Linked DNA regions of Homo sapiens: regions 2 and 3 are each linked to region 1. The links are contacts of gene promoters, found by promoter capture Hi-C in human tissues and cell types (Jung and others, 2019). All regions are on one chromosome and are shown on one strand. Each heading gives the region's core, a stretch centred on a gene start or on the middle of the fragment in contact. The rest is flanking DNA. Distances are from core to core; before and after follow the strand shown. Region 1 holds the start of DMC1 (DNA meiotic recombinase 1). Region 2 holds the start of SLC16A8 (solute carrier family 16 member 8). Region 3 overlaps PLA2G6 (phospholipase A2 group VI).

Region 1 (4,053 bases), core at 990-3,489:
ATTTCAAGAATATGTATCAGCAAGCATCACTTTGTAGAAGCCCAACTATACGCGCTGGAATCCTGTGCCTCTATTTGGTTATAAGGTGACTGTCCACGGAGGGGCAGTAAAGTGTAATAGTTTAAAATTCAGGTCTTAACTATAATCCCACTGCCTATTTTTTTATTTCTAAAAATATCATAAAAAGACACAAAATTTTAAAATTGTGTAGAGAAATTGTGGACTTCCTGAAGGATTTGAAAAATTAGGCAAGCTATATTATCCAGTTAATAATTGACACAAAAGCTCTGGTTTGCCATGTTCTATATTGTGGATAGGAAAGTACCATTTTGCCATGCAGGATATATTTTTTTAAATATAAGCATACTTAACAATCTTTCATGGCTTCTGAGTTTTGTAGCATACTTAAAAAGATGTTTCTTATTACAAAGTAATTTTAAATATCCCATATTTTCTTCTAGTACTTTTATTATTTTATTGTTCAGATTTAATTTTTTGATCTGTCTGGAATTTATTTTGGTATAATGTGTAAAGTGTGGTTCCAATTTTATTTTTCTTCCAGATGGTTACCTAGTTGTTCTAACACTATTCACTGAATTCATCATTTCTCCACTGATGTGAAATGCCACCTTCATGATATTCAGAGTTTTTGTATGATACGAAAGACAATTTTTTTGGTTCCGATTTTAGTGGAAAGTCTTCATGTGCACTTTTTAACTGTCCTAGAGTTTGTTGTTGTTTTAAATATCTTAAAAGTTGTCTCTAACCATCGATATGATACCCAGATAAGATTTTTCTCCTCCCTTCATGAATTTGTCATTACCCAGCTCATTTTAGTTTTTTTAAGTGTACTGCACACAACCTTCAAATATTATGAACATTTCTCTCTCCCAGCTGTCACTACACCAAACTACATATGTTATATTTCCCTAAATCATCTTGCTGTGCTCTTTGCAGCTCTTCTGTAGACTGTTGATGTCTTCACCTAACGAGTTGCTCAAAAGTTCCCATAATTATTTAGGTGAGGCCTCAGAGCGAAAGCCTTTCACCACTATCCAGTTCCTCCCCCAAATGGGCATTCATCTCCATATAACAAGGACGACTGTGTTTGGGGGAAAATAACAGATTTGGAAGCACAATGGCAGTTATTTGTTGGCTCTTAAAACAATCCACCTGTTGGGGGGGTGCGTCCTACACAAAATGCCAACTGCTATTGTGGGAATGTTTTGCTATTTATTCCACCAAAATGATTCAGACAGAAAAAACAAAAAGGATCGCCCTGTACTAGGTCTTGAACCCAAAGAACTGTTTGCACAGAGATTCATCCAAGATACATCACAGCCTCCACCTCGGCAGCTGCTCTCTCAAATGTTTCCTGACTCTCCCCAAGTCAGTCTCCGCGTGAGGGGAGGAGGAGGATGCTGCCAGCGATGGCGCTGCTGGCACGAAGGCTGGCCTGCGACTTCTATTTAAAAGCTGAACCAAAATATACTTGGCGTCTGTGGTCTATTTAAAACTTCAAGTTAAGACAGAGAAAAAATTACTCTCCATCCTGAATGGGCCTCGGGTGTCTCAATCACAGACAAGAGTGGCAAATGGTGAGAGTCAGAAAGTGGGAAATTAGGAACGCTGAGGGAGCACGGCCAAACTCTGAAGCCAGCATGAAAACCTGGAGGTGAAAAGAGAAGCCATGGGCAGCGGGGGCGGGGGGAAACGGGCCCGGATTCGACCTTCTAAGCCAAGGCTCCATCTGCAACCCTCGCGACCAAGACCTATCGCCAAAGTCAGCCACCTCTGCTCATCGCCCCTCCCCCGACTCAAGGCTACCTCCTCAGAACCCCGCCTCAGGGTCTTCTCCCGGACTTTAGCGAGGTGCTCAGCTCGAGGGACGCCCCAGCTCAACGGTCTCCCTTCAAGGCCCCGCTCCTCAGCGCGCTCCTTCCACAGCGCCCCTCCCTCCCTCCCTCCGTCATCCCAGCTCGCCACCCGCTGGGGCTCCTCTTCGTTTTCCGCGCCTCAGCCCTCGCCCCGCCCCCTCGCCCTGAGCCCCCTCCAGGCCACGCCCTCTGGTCCCCCCACCTGTGAGCCCGCTCGTTCCCCGCCCTTCGGTCTTCGCCCCGCCCCCATTGCTCCCCGCCCCTCGTCGCCCTCTGTAGGCCTGCTCCCTCCCCGCCCTTCCACCCTCACCCTGCGCCCCGCCCCGGCCCCTTGGTCCTCGCCCCGCCCTCCTCGTTTGGCGCCAAACCCTGTGGTCAACGGCGCGCGGGTCTCCAGGCTCCGTGTTCTAGGCCCGAGTTAGAATCCTGTCAGCTGAGGAGGTCGGGCGGGGCAGAGGGGCTTCACCTTGAAAATCTCGGGGAGACTGTGGGTACGAGGGGGGTAAGTGGCAAAAACGAACAGCGTGCGAAGACTCTGAGGGGACGCTCGTTTTGAGAAGGCGCGCTTCCCTTTCTCGCTCCTTTTTTGGGGTCCCTGGGCTAGTGACTTTGAGCGTTCCGCTCCGACCTTTGGGGAGGAATTTTAGTGATCTTGAGGGATTTCCAACCTCATTTTCAATCGAATCGGACCTGAGTCTAGGAGAGCCCGCCTCATCCTCCTGACCAGGGAATCCGGTGTCAGGAAAATGTCCGGCGGCCGCAGGGGGTCTGCCCAGGCCTCCTGCTGAGGGAGGCGTCGAGGGCGACCCGACCGCGCTGCTGCCCCCACCAGAGGGGACAGCTGGGTCGTCTTAAACCGGGGGATTGGGGAGCCCTACTTTCAATCCAACGGTTCAGTCTATCAACGGCTCCTTGAGAGATGGGGGACAATCTTTTCATTTCATCACGGGGAGAAGAAATGAATGCTGTTTTTCTCTTCGATGGGGACAGTAAATGTGGAATTGGGGTACTCATAGCTAGCCATCTGAAGGACAGTGTCCCCGAAGATCCCATCCGAACGGTCTCGGTTGCCTTCCATCCTTTGCCGTTTGAGGTGCTGGGTGGTAGGACCCTGCTCCTGCCTTAGTATTAATGGTTCGTTCCCTTTGTTCTAGGGTCCAACCCCTGACTTTGGTATCAAATGAGGAAATGGAATCGACCAAGAAAAATGATGATTTGGACCGCATTTTATTGTAATAAATAAACACAATCACGCCTTGTGGATTCCTGAGATTTCTTTTTGAGTCTACAATGTTAAAAACTTTAACTGCTTATCAGCCTTAATATAATATTATGATCCACCAATTTTTTTTTTTTTTTTTGAGACTGAGTCTCGCACTGTCGCCCAGGCTGGAGTGCAGTGGCATGATCTCGGCTCAGTGCAACCTCCGCCTCCCAGGTTCAAGCGATTCTCCTGCCTCAGCCTCCCAAGTAGGTGGGATTACGGGCGCCCACCACCACGCCCGGCTAATTTTTTTGTATTTTTAGTAGAGACGGGGATTGGCCAGGCTGGTCTCGAACTCCTGACCTCGTGATCTGCCTGTCTCGGCCTCCCAAAGTGCTGGGATTACAGGCATGAGCCTCCACACCCGGACCACCATATTTTTAAATCTTAAAAAAATCATGAAACTAGTAAATACTGTGAAAGAAAGTATAGCTAATGTTCTATGAAACAAAAAGGTGGATGTTACAGGAGTACCCATTCATAATCAGCAGGCAGGAAGGCATTCATCATAGATGAGAAAAATAGAATCCATTTATTGAGGACAAAGTTGGAGGTGTCAGGGAGGACACAAGGAAGAATGATATAATGTCAAGGTTCCTAGAGTATTGTTGTTAAACATAAACAAGAAAGGTTAAAAGCAATATGCAATTCTAAATAACATTCAAGGCAGTAATAAAGTCATGATTAGCTGTGCAATGGAAACCAGATGATAAGTGATCACTGTTGGGGAAAGAGAAGAAACTAAATAAGCACCCCCCAATTTGCCCCTCAGGCATCTGTGTGCATGTGGGGACACACACACACATGCACACACACACACACACACACAAGAAATAATGTCACATGTCTCGCAGAAAGAAGATAGGCTGGCCTCATCTTTCCAAGCTAAATGCTTCTCTTACTGTCCTTCTA
Region 2 (4,053 bases), core at 901-3,400, 490 kb after region 1:
TGCCAAGCCGTGCCCCCAGCCCTGCACCTCCACCCTTGCCCAGCAGCCGCCGCAGCAGCATGGGCAGCACAGCAGTTGCCACTGACGTCAAGGTGAGCCCTTGCCCGCCCTCTCTTGGGGCCTCCAGCGGGCAGGGAGGCAGGAGAGCAGGGATCCCGAGGCTCTGTCACCGGCTGTCTGGCAGGGGACCCGCCTACCTGGCCTCACTCAGTCTGTTCCTCAGTGCAGGGAGGGGTGGTGTGGGGCTGAGTCTGGGCTGAAGGGGAAGACCAGGGTCCCAGGACAGGGTGTGGCCTGGGGCTAGCCAGTAGGACGGGGCTGGGGGAGGCCAGGGAGGGCATCTCCGATGGAGCCACCCCGGTCTTATCCTGGGGGCGTGGTTAGTCCTTGGAGGTGGTGCTCTGGCCTAGGGGTTTCTCACTTCTGCAACCCACAGAATTCTGGGCTTCAGAACGTCAGGGTCTCATTTTCCAGGAGCCTGGCATGGCAGGGGCTCTCTGGCCCAGTCCTCTGCCCTTGGGCATGGGGAGAGGGAGGGGAGGAGCAAGGGATTGCTTGCCCCTCTCCCCACCAAACCAGCCCTTCCCCACCCCCACTGCAGAAACTGATGTCCTCAGAGCAGTACCCACCACAGGAGCTCTTCCCGAGGTGAGTCCTCACATGGGGGCCCAAACAGTGAGGAGGGTGGCAGGTGCGGCGGCACACACTTGTAGTCCCAGCTACTAGGGAGACTGGGGCAGGAGGATCTCTTGATTCCAACAGTTCAACATCAGCTTGAGCAACACTGTGAGACCCTATCTCTTAAAAGAAAAAAAAAGATGAAGCGGGGCAAGGAGTGGATGGAGACCAAATAGGGGCAGGAGGCAGGACCCAGCTCAGTTGCCCAGCTGCCTTCCTGAGCCATGGCCAGGTGGGGATCATCTGCCCTTCTCACCCCATTCTCTCTCTCCTCCTACAGGGGCACAAATCCTTTTGCCACTGTCAAGCTTCGTCCCACCATCACCAATGACCGCTCAGCACCCCTCATCCGCTGAGGCGGGGTCCGAGGTCGTACCCCACAGTGCACCTGCCCAGGGGCTGTTCAGAGCTGGCAATGGCAGCGACAGCAGCAACAGCAGCAGATCCAAGAAGCGGGTCCCTGAGACGGGGGGTGGCTGCCCTCCCCAGACCACCCCGGCAGCCTGAGCAGCTCCAAAGCACTGGCTTGGGGTCCGAGACCTTCAAAGTAAAGCAGGCGGAATGGGGGGACAGGACAATTTCTCCCCCTCCAGGGGCTCCAGGACTCTCCCTGGGGGGCCCACCTCTTGCCCCCTAACCTCTTTCCCCCTTTTCTGCCCCCGTGGGGAGGAGCCCCTTGTACCTGCTCCGTGCCCAACACATGCCCTCTCTGTACATCTTTTGTAAATGATGAGAAATAAAGGAAGTGGACGCAAAGTGATGCGGCAGCAGGACTGGTGGTGTCTTATTTGGGGGACAGGGCAGGGGGTGAGGGATAGAGACTCCCCCATTGGAGAATGGGGTCTAGGGGGTACTGAGGTCCTGGCTGTTCCCCGGGAAGCCATCTCACTCCCAGCCCCTTGTTTGTTTGTTTGGAGAACTCTTTAGGGCTGCCCCAAAGCCCTCGCGCTGCAGCCCCCATCTCCACCTGCTCTCATTTCGACCTGTGGGTTTCCTAGGAAGTAGCGGCTGCTCGGGTCAGGGGAGAGGTGGCAGTGGCCAAGGGCTGGGACCACCAGCAAGCTGCCCTCAGGCGGCCTGGACACAGCACCCTTTGTTTTGGCCCCTCCCCCCCCCACATTCCCAGGCACAGGCGTGGATTAGCTTCATTCTAGAGAAAGCTGCCAGCCCCTCCTGGAATGTGGCCTGGGGCGGGGGGTTGGGGCGGGGGCAGATGAGGCACTGAGGTGATTAGAACCGTTGGGGTCTCTTCAGGGCAGGGCTGTGCCCCCAGCACCAGACTAGGACCCCCTGGGCAAGGTCTCTGTGTCTACCACCCCAGGCTCCAGGAGGCACAGGGATTCTCTTCCTCCCTCCTGGACTGGCTTGGGACAGGGAGCCCACCGCCGAGGCCCAGCCTGGCCTGGGGCTCCCAGTCTCTTCTCCCCTCCTGGACAAAAGCCTCTTAGCAGGGGTGAGGTGTGGTGGGGGCACACACTCTAAGCTCCAGGCCTGGGGCAGGGAGCGTCAGGCGGGAGTCGGCCAGAGGCTCAGCCCAGGCTGGTGGGAAGCTGGGGTGTCTGGCAGCCCCCATCCGGGTAAGCTTCACCGGGAGCTGCGGCGGCGGCCCCTCCCTGCAGGCCTCAGGAGATGTGAGGCTGGACCCCCAAACCCACGAGGCAGGCTCAGGTGAGTGTGATGTGAGGGCTGCCTGGGATCACCCTCCTGTCTCCACCTTCAAGTGGCTGCCCCTGTGACAAGAGGACAACAGGCAGGAAAAGCCACAACCTGGTCCTAGTGGAGGAGGGGCAGAGTCCCGGATACCCTGGGGGTGGTGGCACTGCCCAGTGCCAGGAGGGACACTCCAGGCAGGAGGGCAGGAGGCTATCCCCAGCCCCCGGCTCCTGGTGCACCTGTCTCTGAGTACACCCTCCTCATCTGTTATGGGGGCGCTTGTAACTGCTGTGAGGGCCCCGGGTGGAGCCCCAGGAATGAGACAGGCTTTGGAGCCATTCTTTTCATATAGAGGGTTTGAGGTTTGGAGGGCAGAAGGCCACTCTCTCAGTGCTGCTAAGGTTCCTACCTGTCTGGCAGAAGCCAGAGACCTGACTCCTCTCCCGCAAGATTCCCAGCTGGCCTCGGGGTGATCAATCACCCATCTTACATCGGAGGAAAGGGAGGTTGGGAGAGGGGAGGCGACCGGCCCAAGTCAGGGAGGGAATCCATGGCTGAGCTGAGATGCATGGGAACTCAGCTCCCCTGGCTGATATCTGTTGAAAGTGGCTTTTGTCCCCTTAATGTTCTAATGACAATAGTCATTTGTGATCACTGAGAAACATTAGGAACATGGCGGAAGGCTAAAGAGGAAAATCACGCACAGCGGCCCTTTGCAGCCGGCATCTGCCCCTCTGCTGTTTGTTCTGTTGTCCCGAGACCCTCACGCGTACGGGGCGACTTTGGTGCTGGACGCCCACCTCCAGGCACATACCTGCTCCACTTCCCGACGCCTTCCACCTGAGGCCCTGAGGGGCCAGCAGTTGTCCTTCAGAGGGAGCCTGCAGAGGTGCAGAGTCAGGTGGGACCCGTCGTCCTCCCCTCGTCCTTCAGCGCCCTTTGCAGGAGAAGGAGACTTGGGGTGAGAGTCCTACCTCCGTTTCCCCTTTTGGTTCCCAGACCTGAGCCACCCTCACGTGGGTAGCCCTGTGCCTCAGTTTCCCCATGCTTCGTCTCCATCCCCCTCCTTCTCTAGGCTGCTGGCCCAGCCCCTCCCTCTTGTCCCCGCCCCCTCCCAACAGAGGCAGCGATGGGCGCTGGCGGCCCCCGGCGGGGCGAGGGCCCCCCAGACGGCGGCTGGGGCTGGGTGGTGCTGGGCGCCTGCTTTGTGGTCACCGGCTTCGCCTACGGCTTCCCCAAAGCCGTGAGCGTCTTCTTCCGCGCGCTCATGCGCGACTTCGACGCCGGCTACAGCGACACGGCCTGGGTGTCCTCCATCATGCTAGCCATGCTCTACGGCACGGGTCAGTGTCCCCGCCCGGCCCTCCGCCTCCCCGGGACCCCTGGGATCCGGAACCAGGAGACACCCGAGCCCCTGAGCATCCCCCTGACCCTCGGGGTGGCCCCCGAAGTCCCTTCCTGCCTGTGGGAACCCTGGCACCAGAAAGAGGGGAAGAGAGGGCGGGAGGGAGACAGCGGCCAGAGGCGGGGCCGGCCCAGGGGGCTGCCCTGCGAGCTCAGAGGGCCCCTTCTAAGACCACACCCGCCCATTGTAGAGGCAGGAAAGCTGAGAGCCACAGAAGCACTCCCCCTCCCCGCAGCCCTGACCTGTAGGTGGGGGCTTGCTGGAGTTCCCATCCTGGGAGGCGGGGCTGCGGAGGAATCCCAGTCTGTGCCAGGGCG
Region 3 (4,053 bases), core at 1,132-3,631, 400 kb after region 1:
ATTCACCAAACTTATTAAACACCCACTGTGAGTCAGGAACATCATGCCAGGTGCTTAGGGAAACAAATCAAAGCGGGTTGGGTGAGCAGCCCAAGCCAACAGATGCACCCCCATTCTCACATGGTGTGTGTTCCTGTGGGCTGGGCCCTGGGTGGTGTGGGGTGCTGGGGAGAAGAGGAAGGCACACCAGGCTGCAGGGCGGAGGTGCGGGTATGAATTTTCAGAGGAGATGGCACCTGAGCTGTATCTTCATGGATAAGAAGAGATTTGTTCATTTGTCCTTTGTGGAGCACACATTCAGGTTAAGAAAGTGGGGAGGATGGGCTACGCTGATGGAGCGTATGTGTGGTATCCCCAAGTGCACTGAGACACGAGTTTGACGTGTTCTGGGAAGATCGATGGTGCGGCGTGGCTGGAGTAGAGGTGAGGGATGAGTTGGAGGGGTGAGTTGGGCCAGCTCTCATGGATGCTGGAGTCTGGGCTTTCCCTGGGAGGTCATGGGGCGCCACTGGCCAGGGTCAGCAGGGAGACCTGCAGCTGGATTTGCATCGTACAGTGGGCATGGAGGGGTGTCAGGCTGGGTTGGGAACCGTGCAGGCTGGAAGGGCACTCTGGTGCTCTGAGCATTCAGAGGGGGCAGCTGGGCCTTGAAGGATGAGCAGGGGCTCCAGCAGGAACTGGAGAGCGCATTCCAGGGAGGACGCAAGTGCAGGCCCCTTTCACTACAGAAAAGCAGTTTTCACACAGACCTTCCAAAGGGGAGGAGAGGGGACTGCCTGGGCCTGGCAGCTGCGGCAGGTAGCAGCAATCAGAGGGCAGGGACCGCTCCTCCCGTGCCTGAGACCTGCCCAGGGTCCTTCAGGGAATTCGTAGCTGAGGAGGAACCAGATTTTTGGGACTGAGTTCTCCCTCACCACCCGCTCTGAGCCACCCTCTTGGTCCCTTGTCCTCTACTGCACTTCTTCCGGGGCTTGGCTCCTCGTCATGAGAGGAGCTTCCCTGGGCATGGCGAGGGGCGTGACTGACATAGCAGCCCTGGACAAGTGGCTCCAGGTGACCTGTGTTCACGTTGATCACAGCACTAACCACGGCCCCTCCTCTCAGCACCTTCCCCTCTCGAGCCGTCCAGTCCCAGTGAAAATGCTCACCGTTCATGGGTGGGCTGAGCAAGCCCCTGATCTCTGCCTTCCTCCGTGTTCTGATCTGCTTCATCTGCTGTGAAGGCCTCTCGCCATTTCCCCCGCTGGCAAACTCCTGTTCTTCCTGGAAAGTTCAGCTAAAAAGTCATCCCCTTTAGGGGTCCTTCCCTCAGGGGACCGTGCACTTGGCGAGACAGGGACTGGTCTTGGGTCTCTCTGTTGACTGTTTTATGAACCCAGGTAGTCACTTCCAGGGAACTCATCAGAGATGCTACCATTGGCTCCAATCTCCCTCTGTTCCCACTCGAGGTTTTTTGTTTCTTCGTTTGTTTTTCTTTCTTTCTTTTTTTTTGAGACAGAGTCTCGCTCTCGCCCAGGCTGGAGTGCAGTGACATGATCTCGGCTCACTGCAAGCTCCGCCTCCCGGGTTCACGCCATTCTCCTGCCTCAGCCTCCCGAATAGCTGGGACTACAGGCACCCGCCACCACGCCCAGCTAATTTTTTTTGTATTTTTAGTAGAGACGGGGTTTCACCATGTTAGCCAGGATGGTCTCAATCTCCTGATTTCGTGATCCGCCCGCCTTAACCTCCCAAAGTGCTGGGATTACAGGCGTGAGCCACTGCGCCCAGCCCGTTTGTTTTTGTTTTTTGGTGGACATCAACTTTAATTTGCCCTTTGTTTTGTTTTGTTTTTGAGGCAGGGTCTTGCTCTGTCTCCCAGGCTGGAGTGCAGTAGTGCAATCTTGGCTCACTGCAGTCTCGACCTCAAGAGGATCAAGCAATCCTCTTGCCTTAGCCTCCCGAGTAGCTGGGACCACAGGCGCACACCACCATGCCCAGCTAATTTTATTTTATATTTTGTAGAGACAGGGTTTTGCCATGTTCCCCAGGCTGGTCTCAAATTCCTGGGCTCAAGCAATCCGTCTGCCTCAGCCTCCCAAAATGCTGGAATTACAGGCACGAGCCACTGTGCCCGGCCTTAATTTGCCCTTTGAACATGTACAATTCAGGGCCTCTCTGGGCCTCAGTTTCTTGATCTCTGAGATGGGAAGATGGGATAATAATACTTGTTCCTCCCGTCCTTCAGCTCCTCCAGGGGACCCTCACACCAGCACACTCTCTGTCAGTCTTCCCTCAATGAACCCAGCAGGCAAGCTTGGTTTTGACAGAGGATGGGTGAGCAGAGATAAGGAAAACGGCCAGAAATATCTGGCTTCCCTCAGCAGGGGCACCAAAATTGGTACCTGGAAATTGCCTGGCTTGGACAGGCAGAATTGTCACTGTCAACCCCCACCACCAAAGGTCTTGGGTCTTTGTCTTTCTGCTTGTGGTGTTTGAGAGAGCTGCTTGACACAGCCGAGGTGCGGTCTGTGTCAGGTGACCTGGGCATCCTGGGGGTGCAGGGAGAAGCCCAGGTAAGGAGGAGGAGGGGCCGGTCATCAGTGGGGAAAAGTGATTGTCTACCCCACGGGAAGGTCAAGGGTAGGACGCTGTGAGAAGCCAGGGGGAGAGATGAAGTGAGGCATGATGCGGGGGGCCCTCATCCACCATCCCCCTCTTGCAGCTGTGCTGGGAAGAGCCTAGGCTCCAGGGTCCAAGGTGGCAGGGACAGAAGGAAGCACGTGTGAGCACTTTCTCCCTGCTGGCCCGCCTTCCTGGTTGGCAATGCCGTGAGTGTTCCAGGATGTGGCCCCGTGGCTGTCATTTCCTTTCTTCCACCTAGTGATAACAATGGCCACTGTTTGTGTGCCCACAGTCGGCCTGTGTCCCAGACACCTTCCCTCCATTGCGTCATCTCGTCCTCCTGCCTACCCTGAAGGCTGGATGCCAGCCAAGCCTGTCGTTTCTGTGGCCATGCTGTCGTGGGTGTGTGGGGGGCATCCCCTAGCCCCAGGCTCTGGTGGGGGGTACACAGGCTGGGCCATTGACGAAGGGGTGTGTGGAATCTTTCTTTGATTTCACTGCACCCCTGGTGACTTTCTCCCTCAATCTGAGGCTCATGGGTGCTGGATGCTCTTGACTCTCTGCCCTTCCTGGGCGCACCCCTCCGCGTCCCTGTGGGCCCGTCCTCGGGGTAGCCTCTCTGCGCTCTTCCAGGCCAGGCCTGAGTCCCACAGGTCCCCATCTTCCCGGCTGCAGCCCCCAGAGGCTCAGCCTATACTGCTACTTCCTTTGAAAACTATAATCGCTTTACATAGCATCTGGAAAATAGGGAAAAGGAAAAAACAAAAGCCCATAAACCCAGCACCCTCATCTACTCAATGGCATGTTTTCTGTCAGTCTATCTTGGTTTGTTTTCTATCAGGCTTTGTTTTTTCTATGCATAATATTTACTCAGTTAAATTTTTGTTTTGACAAACTTTCTGTGAGCCAAGCTTGTGGACGGAGATGAAAAGACGAGCAGCTGCCTTTGAGAAACTCAGACTCTGGGCCAGCCCATCTGGGTGCCAGCTTTCACTGCTCCACCCACTAGCTGGGTGACCCTGGGCCCGTGACTTTACCCCTCTGTTCTTTGGTGTTCTCATATGTAAAATGAGGATAATAATAGTAACCAGTTCATAGAGTGGTTGTCAGACAGAATGATTAATGTACGTAAAGCTTTCAGGATGGTGCCAGCAAGATGCACAGGAGTGTTTGGTAGGAGGATGACGAAGCTTACCGTCTGGCAGGAGGGGCAGTTGTAACATGCTGGGCTGTGATAGTACAGATGTGTTTAAAGTGAGGGAGAGCCCAGAGCAAGGAGAGAGAACCTGGCATCTGGTGATGGTGTATCAAGAACATTTTAGGCCAGACACGGTGACTCACACCTGTAATCCCAGCACTTTGAGAGGCTGAGGCAGGCAGATCGCTTGAACCCGGGCGTTCGAGACCAGCCTGAGCAACGTGGTAAGACCCTGTCTTTATAATTTTTTT

Evidence for each region. The method cuts DNA at HindIII sites, captures the fragments that hold promoters and counts their contacts. A contact is called where the count stands out against the background at its distance.
Region 2: the fragment with the promoter of SLC16A8 here is called in contact with the fragment with the promoter of DMC1 in region 1 in 4 of the 25 tissues and cell types used here (H1 embryonic stem cells, IMR-90 fibroblasts, dorsolateral prefrontal cortex and 1 more).
Region 3: a contact is called between a fragment that was not itself captured here and the fragment with the promoter of DMC1 in region 1, in 9 of the 25 tissues and cell types used here (H1 embryonic stem cells, IMR-90 fibroblasts, dorsolateral prefrontal cortex and 6 more).

What each region holds. Positions count from the first base shown.
Region 1 is chr22:38,568,369-38,572,421 of GRCh38, reverse strand. It overlaps DMC1 (DNA meiotic recombinase 1), which reads left to right and starts at 2,239. Exons shown (of 14, transcript NM_007068.4): 1 at 2,239-2,379. LOC105373031 (a long non-coding RNA gene) reads right to left here and starts at 1,922. Exons shown (of 2, transcript NR_134627.1): 1 at 1,828-1,922; 2 at 1,064-1,669. RefSeq lists enhancers at 1,504-1,553, 1,140-1,650 and a silencer at 1,954-2,243. The HindIII fragment of the contact is 22,042 bases long and covers 1-4,053 here.
Region 2 is chr22:38,082,281-38,086,333 of GRCh38, reverse strand. SLC16A8 (solute carrier family 16 member 8) reads left to right here and starts at 2,150. Exons shown (of 6, transcript NM_013356.3): 1 at 2,150-2,346; 2 at 2,973-3,292; 3 at 3,453-3,674. The coding sequence starts at 3,461. It overlaps BAIAP2L2 (BAR/IMD domain containing adaptor protein 2 like 2), which reads left to right. Exons shown (of 14, transcript NM_025045.6): 12 at 1-92; 13 at 602-648; 14 at 959-1,434. The coding sequence ends at 1,034. RefSeq lists enhancers at 1-324, 1,885-2,666 and a silencer at 3,642-3,691. The HindIII fragment of the contact is 9,296 bases long and covers 1-4,053 here.
Region 3 is chr22:38,171,834-38,175,886 of GRCh38, reverse strand. The region is part of intron 1 of PLA2G6 (phospholipase A2 group VI); the gene reads left to right. Among named protein-coding and RNA genes, the nearest start is that of PLA2G6, 8.0 kb to the left of the region's middle. RefSeq lists a cis regulatory region at 1,705 and an enhancer at 1,633-1,777. The HindIII fragment of the contact is 3,596 bases long and covers 584-4,053 here.